Linked DNA regions of Homo sapiens: regions 1 and 2 are each linked to region 3. Evidence: promoter capture Hi-C in human tissues and cell types (Jung and others, 2019). All regions are on one chromosome and are shown on one strand. The core of a region is centred on a gene start or on the middle of the fragment in contact, and the rest is flanking DNA. Distances in the headings are between cores, read along the strand shown. Region 1 has its middle 45 kb from the start of LINC02189. Region 2 has its middle 61 kb from the start of LINC02189. Region 3 holds the start of C16orf95 (chromosome 16 open reading frame 95).

What was found. The method cuts DNA at HindIII sites, captures the fragments that hold promoters and counts their contacts. A contact is called where the count stands out against the background at its distance.
Region 1: a fragment that was not itself captured here is called in contact with the fragment with the promoter of C16orf95 in region 3 in 1 of the 25 tissues and cell types used here (IMR-90 fibroblasts).
Region 2: a fragment that was not itself captured here is called in contact with the fragment with the promoter of C16orf95 in region 3 in 2 of the 25 tissues and cell types used here (IMR-90 fibroblasts and lymphoblastoid cells).

What each region holds. Positions count from the first base shown.
Region 1 is chr16:86,675,240-86,678,035 of GRCh38, forward strand. No RefSeq gene overlaps it. Among named protein-coding and RNA genes, the nearest start is that of LINC02189, 45 kb to the right of the region's middle. The HindIII fragment of the contact is 7,441 bases long and covers 1-2,796 here.
Region 2 is chr16:86,659,177-86,661,917 of GRCh38, forward strand. No RefSeq gene overlaps it. Among named protein-coding and RNA genes, the nearest start is that of LINC02189, 61 kb to the right of the region's middle. The HindIII fragment of the contact is 4,543 bases long and covers 1-2,741 here.
Region 3 is chr16:87,315,961-87,318,660 of GRCh38, forward strand. C16orf95 (chromosome 16 open reading frame 95) reads right to left here and starts at 1,432. Exons shown (of 7, transcript NM_001195124.3): 1 at 1,131-1,432. The coding sequence starts at 1,282. It overlaps C16orf95-DT (C16orf95 divergent transcript), which reads left to right and starts at 1,549. Exons shown (of 2, transcript NR_135180.1): 1 at 1,549-1,762; 2 at 1,897-2,083. RefSeq lists an enhancer at 1,010-1,459. The HindIII fragment of the contact is 14,678 bases long and covers 1-2,700 here.

The sequences.
Region 1 (2,796 bases), core at 145-2,644, 640 kb before region 3:
TCCTTGAAAACCCGTCTCCTTGACAAAGTTTTCTCTAATACTTTCATCCCAGGTTGTTTGCCTCTTCTCTCATGCATTTTAAAAGCACTTTATACTTCCTTCTATTAAGGAATTTATCTTGCTGTTCAGAGTTTTTTTTTTAACACACCTCTTTCCCTGATCAGAGACTGTTAATGTCTATCTTACTTTTTGTTTTTTTGCACCATCTAGCAACTTGCTGGCATACAGTAGATGATTAGAAACAGTCAAAGAGTGAGTGAAAAAATGAATGAGTGAATGAATGAATAAATGCAGGGCAGGCAGGGACCTTGGTCTTATTTGACCCTGGATCTAGTCATCAAGCAGTTTTTGGCACAGAGGAGCCATTCAGAAGAGTTTCTTGTCTATAAGAGCAAGAGTTTCTGGTCTATAAGAGCGAGGGTTTCTGGTCTATAAGAGCGAGGGTTTCTGGTCTATAAGAGCCAGGGTTTCTGGTCTATAAGTGTGAGGGTTTCTGGTCTATAAGACCGCGGGTTTCTGGTCTATAAGAGCAAGGGTTTCTGGTCTATAAGACCGCGGGTTTCTGGTCTTTAAGAGCAAGGGTTTCTGGTCTATAAGAGCGAGGTTTTCTGGTCTGTAAGAGCAAGGGTTTCTTGTCTATAGAGCGAGGGTTTCTGGTCTATAAGAGCGAGTGTTTCTGGTCTATAAGAGTGAGGGTTTCTGGTCTATAAGAGCAAGTGTTTCTGGTCTATAAGAGCAAGGTTTTCTGGTCTGTAAGAGCGAGGGTTTCTTGTCTATAGAGCGAGGGTTTCTTGTCTATAGAGTGAGGGTTTCTGGTCTATAAGAGCGAGGGTTTCTGGTCTATAAGAGCCAGGTTTCTTAACTATAAGAGTGAGGGTTTCTTGTCTATAAGAACAGGAGTTTGTATTTGTTTTGTTCACTCTTGCATTCCCCGTACTTAGAGCAGCTCCTGTCACAGAGTAGGAGCTTAGAAATAATTGATGAGTGAATAAATTGTGAGAGACCTATTTTCATCAGCTCCCTCTCTCTCAGAGGCCTGCCATGGCTAGAGAGGAGCTTGTGTTTCCAGGCTGCTGAGGGCTCTTCCTCCTGTGTCATGCACTGACATGTCTGTGTGAATCAGAGCCTGTTGGACAAGGAGAGAGAGAGGTGGTCAAAGGGCATGAATCAGCCCATTTCTTGGCTTTTCCCAGACAAGGTGGCTCAAAATGTGTTCTGTGCAGGTCGGGTCTGGTTTTTATAGACTTCTGTGGACTAAAGTGAGGTCTGCAAATTGAGGGCTTGTTGGTCACTGTCTTATAGGCATGAGTCACTGGCCAGCAGCCTTCTGCAAGAAGGAAACGCCATCCTCTCCTGGTGACATGTGCCCAAGGCCTGTATGCGGCCCCTCTCCTAGGACTGTGTGGGGCTGGGCTGCTCGTTGGAGGGGTGCACGGTGGTTTTCTGGGTGGGCCGTGCAATTCCTGCTGGCAAACACAGTCATGGTGGAAGCTCTGCCAGAAAAGCACAGAGTGGTAGGGCAGAGTGTTCCTGCATGGCCTCCTGGTCAGAAGCTCACCTCTTCCTGCCATAACCTGGCCAAGGAGAGGAGAGCTCAGTCTTTGGTAACTTCCCCAGAGGGGCCTGGACCAGCCATATTCTCAGGATATGGCTTCTTACTGGGAGCCTTTGCTCTTGTGGCCATGGGGTGAGTTGCTGGCTGGACTTTCTCTGCCAGCACACACCCTTATATCACTGAACCCAGAAGGTTTCCTCCAAACAGGACCTTTGGCCACTGCTTGGAGGGAACTGGGGTGAGGGCATGGGGCTCTTTCATTTTGGAGACAACTAATCCAACCTGACATATCACCTAAGGTTCCCAGATTTAGAGAGAAAAATCAGAAACAAACAAAACAAAACAAAAACCAGGATGCCCAGTTAAATTTAAATTTTAGGTAAACTACAAATATTTTTATTTGTATATGTAGGCCCCATGTAATATTTGGGCAGAAGCAATTGGATACCACACCCTTGTGCCCAAATAGCTAAAAGACTCTCTTTCCCAAAGGCAAAAGGAACCCTATTAGTTTGTTTTCACACTGCTGATGAAGACATACCCAAGGTTGGGAAATTTACAAAAAAAAAAAAAAAAAAAAAGAGGTTTATTGGACTTACAGTTCCACATGGCTGGGGAGGCCCCACAATCATGGCGGAAGGCAAGGAGGAGCAAGTCACATCTTAGGTGGGTGGCAGCAGGCAAAGAGAGAGGGTTGTGTAGGGAAACTCCCCTTTATAATCAGTCATCAGGTCTCATTAGACTTAATTGTTATCACGAGAACAGCAGGGGAAAGACCTGCCTCCATCATTCAGTTGCCTCCCACCGGGTCCCCCCCACGACACATGGGAATTCAAGATGGGATTTGACCATCTTGATATGGTCAGCCAAACCATATCAGGAATGGAGTGAGTACAGGGACAACTGTGATCACTGGCGCTCACCCCCTGCCCCCCTCCCCTCTCCCCGCCATCCCCACACCATGAGGAGGCCCTCTGCACAAAGCATGTCTGCCCAGACTGTGCTCAACAAGACTTTCCTCCTGTTCTGCCTCCTGTCTGGTCTCTTTTGTCTCTGCCTTTTGCCAAGTTTTGTTCCACAGCCTTCCCAGCAAGGTGGGAGCTCCCCAGTTTCCTCCTCCTTCAGCAGAGAGTCCCTGTCTGCTGAAATGCACCCAGCCTATTTCTGTCACTGCCAGCACTGTCTCCTGTTCTGCTGGCGAACTCTGCTTACCTGCCTATCAAGGCCAGATGCCCCTCTCT
Region 2 (2,741 bases), core at 180-2,679, 660 kb before region 3:
ACTGGAGCTCGAGGGAGAGGAGGAGCCAAGAGGCAGAGGACATCCAGCCACTTCCCAGGGCATCGACTATGACCTGCACATGCAGGTTCAGCCATTCTACTAGTATTCTGCCATGTTTACCCACTTTTATTGGCCATTATTACATTGAAAGCAGAGTAAGCGACTCATCTGAGAATGTAATGAAAACCGTGAACACTATCTTCTGAAAAATGCATGCAACATACCAATCTCTATCTATCTGTCTGTCTACCTATCCATCCGTCTGTCTATCCATCTATATACCCATCCATCCATCCATCCATTCATCCACCCACCCACCCATCCATCCATCCATCCATCCATCCATCCATCCATCCATCCATCCATTCGTCCATCCATCCTTCCATCCATCCATTCATTAGTCCATCCATCCGTCCATCCATCCATCCATCCATCCATCTACTTATTTTATTTTTGAAGTGGGTGCTGGGGTCATGGTCCATGAATGCCAGGGTAAGGCAGTCTCACGGAGTCTCCCTTCCTAAATTAAAGACATCATTGGAACTCAGCCTGAGTCTGTAGTTGAAGTGTATTTTTGTCCTTCCCTGCCGTTTGAAGGCTGGCATGTGGCAAGGGCATCTTTTCTATTGCATTGTATTGTTTCTTGTGTCTGGAAAGAATTCTGCTCTCCCTCTTCTGTGGAAATGACAGTTGGGTATAAAAGCTTCTACACCTGAAACTACAGACTTGAGTTTCCTTTCCAATTCAGATTCAATGCAGGCATAATCTCTGGCTCTTTTGCTGGACTGTCAGTTCTTACTTGTATGTCACGACTGGTGGATTATTGAGAGGAATTTGCTTTTAAAGAAGCACATGAGCCTAGTGACCACAGCTTAAATTCTGGGCTACACGTATGCTGAACAGCCTGTGCACCATCCTAGGATGCCTGGTGAAGGCAGAAGCTAGACTCCAACCCCCCTGCTGCTTGCCATGCCACTTCCACCAGACAGGGCACTATTTTCTGATTCACACGAAAGTACACAGCTTGGGGAGGGTGGTAGTGTCCTGCCCATGTGCCTGAAGAACTTCCAGAAGGCCAGTAGGGCTTCTTCCCGCATCACTTGAGCTAAGCTGCAACCATGTCCCCCAAGTCCCCTCTCCTGTATAATTACAGGTTAGTGTGGTCCACAAGACACATTTTGTGCAAGATTTGAAAGGCAGAGGAGCAGTCACATTCTTCCTGCTTGGAAGGTCCACACAGGACGCCAGGTGCTACATCCGGCAGCTCGTGCATGCCACCTGCCCTGCAGACTCAGCTAGGTGGCTTGGGGCGGCCACCGCCCTAAGCCTCTTTTCTCACCTGACTCCAGGGGGTAGGGATCTGTCCTGTGCAAGAAGGAATGGAATCGTTGCTTGTCAAGCACCCATTCTATTCCAGTTCTGCCTCTATGCACCCATAAACCTCTGTGCCTAAGTGGTTTACTGCTTAACTCTTTAACTCTTTTCAGCATTCCTCTGTTGATTAATCGATCACCTAAAATAACCAAACACCACATGAAGCACGGAGAAATTCTGAAGTTGGCTAAGACCATTTCCTGACTCCAAGAGGACACCTGGCATAGAAGGAGGCTGGGAGGGGAGTGCCAGGCCTTGGCAGGCACACAGCTCGGCCCTTCACTGAACATGTTTCTGTGCAGTAGTAAGCCAGATTTGTGAAATGGTTCTTGCTTACGAAGCACCTCTTGACTCATGAATATTTTGAACATATGACAGTAAGTTAAAGACACTTGAAGTCCTATAGTAAAGAAGCTTGTTCACCCTAGCATCTTCCAAACTTATTTGACCACAAACTCTTTATTTCATGAAATACCTCTTAGCATCGTGAGTACCTGTATGAATGCCATCTAGGGACGCAGACCTTGTTCTCATAGAGTTCTCCTCCTTAATGGCCAGGTTGTCCTGAACAAATGTCACCATCTGTGGACAGTGGGGACAATGGTACCTCTTCTTGCCCCAAGGTCATACCATTTCCTTCTTATAGCAATCTTGTGGGGTGAATATCATTGAGCCTGTTGTATAGCTGAGGCGACCGTTTAGAGAGGGTATGAAACTTAACTCATCTGGTTTATGGTGGAGCCAAGACTCAAAGCAGGTCTGACTGATAGACACAAGCCCGTGGTCTTCTCCATACCATACTGCCTGATGGTCAGGGCCAACTTGTTTTGTTTGTTTTTATTTTTTATTTTTGCGTTTACTCATGTTGCATTCTTCTTTGCTCTTTACTTAATTTCTGACCTCCTGATCCTCATTCCCAGCTGGACTGTCAGTCCCCAGAGGGCACAGATGACTTATAAGCCAGGTGATGTCTCCTCGGTGCCCAGCTGTGCCTAATCCATGGTGTGCGCTCCAAGTTCACTGATCAAATGCACGAGTCTATGTTGTTTTTATTTTCCAGTCAAATGCTCAACTCCTGGTTTTCCAAATATCTGTGCTGAGCCTTGGGGGCCGGGACAGTAGACCTGGCATGCTAGTTGCTTTTCTGATCTCCCTTAAGAACGTTGCCTAGCATTAAACCTGCCCTGTCTACACGCGTAATGCTATGTTTCCCTGCTGCAACCTATGCAGAAGACATAATCCAGAAGTCCTGCTGTTGTCTGATCCACCAGAAAAGGAAAATGTGTTTCTCCTGCATAGAGTTGCAGAGCGGATCTGAATCATTTAGACAGGCAGGCTCCGTGGATGTAATGCTGAAGGAAAGGGTC
Region 3 (2,700 bases), core at 182-2,681:
TGAGCCCAAGAAGAGTGAGAGGGTGACATCAGAAGCAGGCGTGTGCTAGCTCATGCGTGAATGTCTAGGGGCTCCTGGGGGCTGGCTGTCATGGAATCCTGCATTCCCAAGCCAACCAGCTTCAAGCTGACTCCAGCTACACTTGTGCTTGGAGCATCAGAAAAGACAGGAGCATTCCAACCTGCTGAGAACTTTCCAAGACATGTAGCTGCCAATCACATCACCTAGGATGATCTGTCAGACACCCTCAACTTACTGAAATACTGAAGAAAAAACATCGTCAAACTGTCCATTAATGAACCTCCTTCCACTATAAAAACCCGGGTGCTTTGTCTCTGGGATGACAAAGCACTTGGGGTTACACAGCCTGTGTGGCTCTTCCCTGTTCCACTCCCCAACAAACTGCTTGAATGTTGGCTGGATGAAGCGTCTCCAGTGGGTGCAAAGCCCTGCTTCCCTGACAGTAGTGGGTCAAAGTGCTTTGTATGTGGAAACCGTAAGAGCGATATAAGTGTTTTTGGGTTTCATTGTCATAATAACCATTATTATTATTGCTATTTTTGTGAGAGTAATAGGTTCACGCATCAACTCTCCCAGATAATGCTTGAAAACAGAGGATGGGGCACTGCCCTCCACAGCATCCGAGGCCCCTTCTGGTAATGACAGCACTGCTATATTCCTGGTGGGGAGGGGGGGGGCCACAGCCATCTCAGTCCTTGTAGTTCAGGTGGGCCAAACTCACCACTGCCCAGCCTGGAAAGCTGGGAAAAAAAAGAATCTCCTTTTTGTTGAGGTTGATAATCTGATAACATGTAAACCTCAGGAGGTCCTGGTGATCATCTTGCCTCCACAAGGGAAGCCAGCAAAAAGGAAGGAAGCTGAGAGATGGAGAGAAACCTTCCAGGACCATGGTCAATGTGTACCTGGATACATCCATGCCTGAAGGCCTACTTCTGACATTTTCAGTTATGTGGAACCATCAGTTGCGTTTTTGTTAAGCCAATGTAAGTGAGGTTCCTGTGGGTGGCGGTCAAGAGTTCTGCCTGTGCATAGGTCATGGAGCAATGCCGGGCCGGGAACTCACAGGCGAGGTGTCGGGTAGCCGCGGGCAGGATTCAGGACTCACTTGCCTGCCATCCTGCGCGCTGGGTGTGAGTGCCAACCTGCAGAGCCCGACGCACCCCGCGCCCGGCCCCCCGGCAGCAGCGCCTGAGGCTGCTCCAGTGGCCTCATGATGATGGTGACAACGCCGCGGGGACGGTGGGGACCGGCTCGCACGCATATGGCTTCTTATGGCTGACGCGCCCTTTCACACACACATCGTCCGCAGGCCCTGACGCCCTGGCTCCCGCCTTTCCCTCCTGCCCCAGGAGGAACCCAACCCGAGCTCAACCCCAGCCCCAACCTCAACCGCTCAGAGGAGCCCAACAACGCCCGCGCGCCCGCCCGTCCCGCTGACTAGCCCGCGCCCAGCCAATCAAAATTGGCCTTCTAGGTATGTGACCTTAGCTGGCAGCTGATTGGTCCCTCACGAGAGACGCGGGGTCAGCGGCTCAGAGCGCGGCTGTGTGGGGCTGCGGGGCTCCCGCCATGCCCGCTGGGGTAGGTCCTGCGGACCCCGGCCACTGGAGCCACTCATCATTTCCGACGGATGGGCCGGAGGGGCCGCCGGCCGCCCCAGCCAGGGTCTCGGTAGCCTGCAAGGAGAGAAAGAGGTGGGAGCAGCCCGCGCGGGGCCCTGCGTCTTGCATAGGCGCTTCTGGTAAAATCACTCCTTTATCTCAGATAATGAGTTGGCGCTGGATCGCTGCGTCCTCAGGTGGGGCTCGAATCGTGACTTTTAGAGAAATAGGTTTTCTTTCTTTTTTTTTTTTTTTAACAACATGGGGTTTAAAGGGCGCGGAATTGGAAGCAGTCGTCACCCGGAGGCCTGGGCGTGCAAGCACCGAAGCTCTGGCTGGCCCTGAGCCTCCCCACCCCACCCGCTCTTTTCGCTGGAACGCGTGTACTTTGGGCAGTTGCTGACGTGGAGACAGGACGTATGTCTTCATATTTTAGTAAAACCCAATGCCCTCTGCCTCTCTGATTATGTTCTTTAAGTTATCGCCAGTTCCAATTTGTATTTCTTGGAAACGGTTGGGTCTTCCCTCACTTTTCAGTATTTTCATGTAGACTCAAATACTCTGGATTAATATTTGTATTTGCCCAAACCATCACGAGCACCTCTTACCCTGATGGGCAATACTTCAGTGTGCTGCGTTCTGGCCACAGAGCAAACAGGGTGCTCCCAGGCACTGCCCTCTCGGATTTCTTGCCTTGTTATTTAATCATTAAGATCGTGACCTATGAGCAGGACTGTTTCCAGCCAGCACATACACATGTCCTCTCCTGGCCAGCATCCATGCTGATTAGACGGTGCCCCTGCCATACTAGCTGCCTAATATTTCAGATACCCCACCCCGTGTGTGTGTGTAAATCATGTCACTGCCCTCTTTGTAGCTAATGACAAAATTCCAAGAGTCACCATTAGCCTAGCACATTATGCCTGTCTCATTTCTGCCCACTTTGGAGCACTCGGCTTCTCTGCTGTTTTCCTCCAGAGCACACTGAAACACTGCCATAGCACAGCAGGGCATAGAAGACAGGCTCATGCTCCCCTGGACGCTCAGGCCTTCACCTCGGGCACACTAGGTCTTGTCA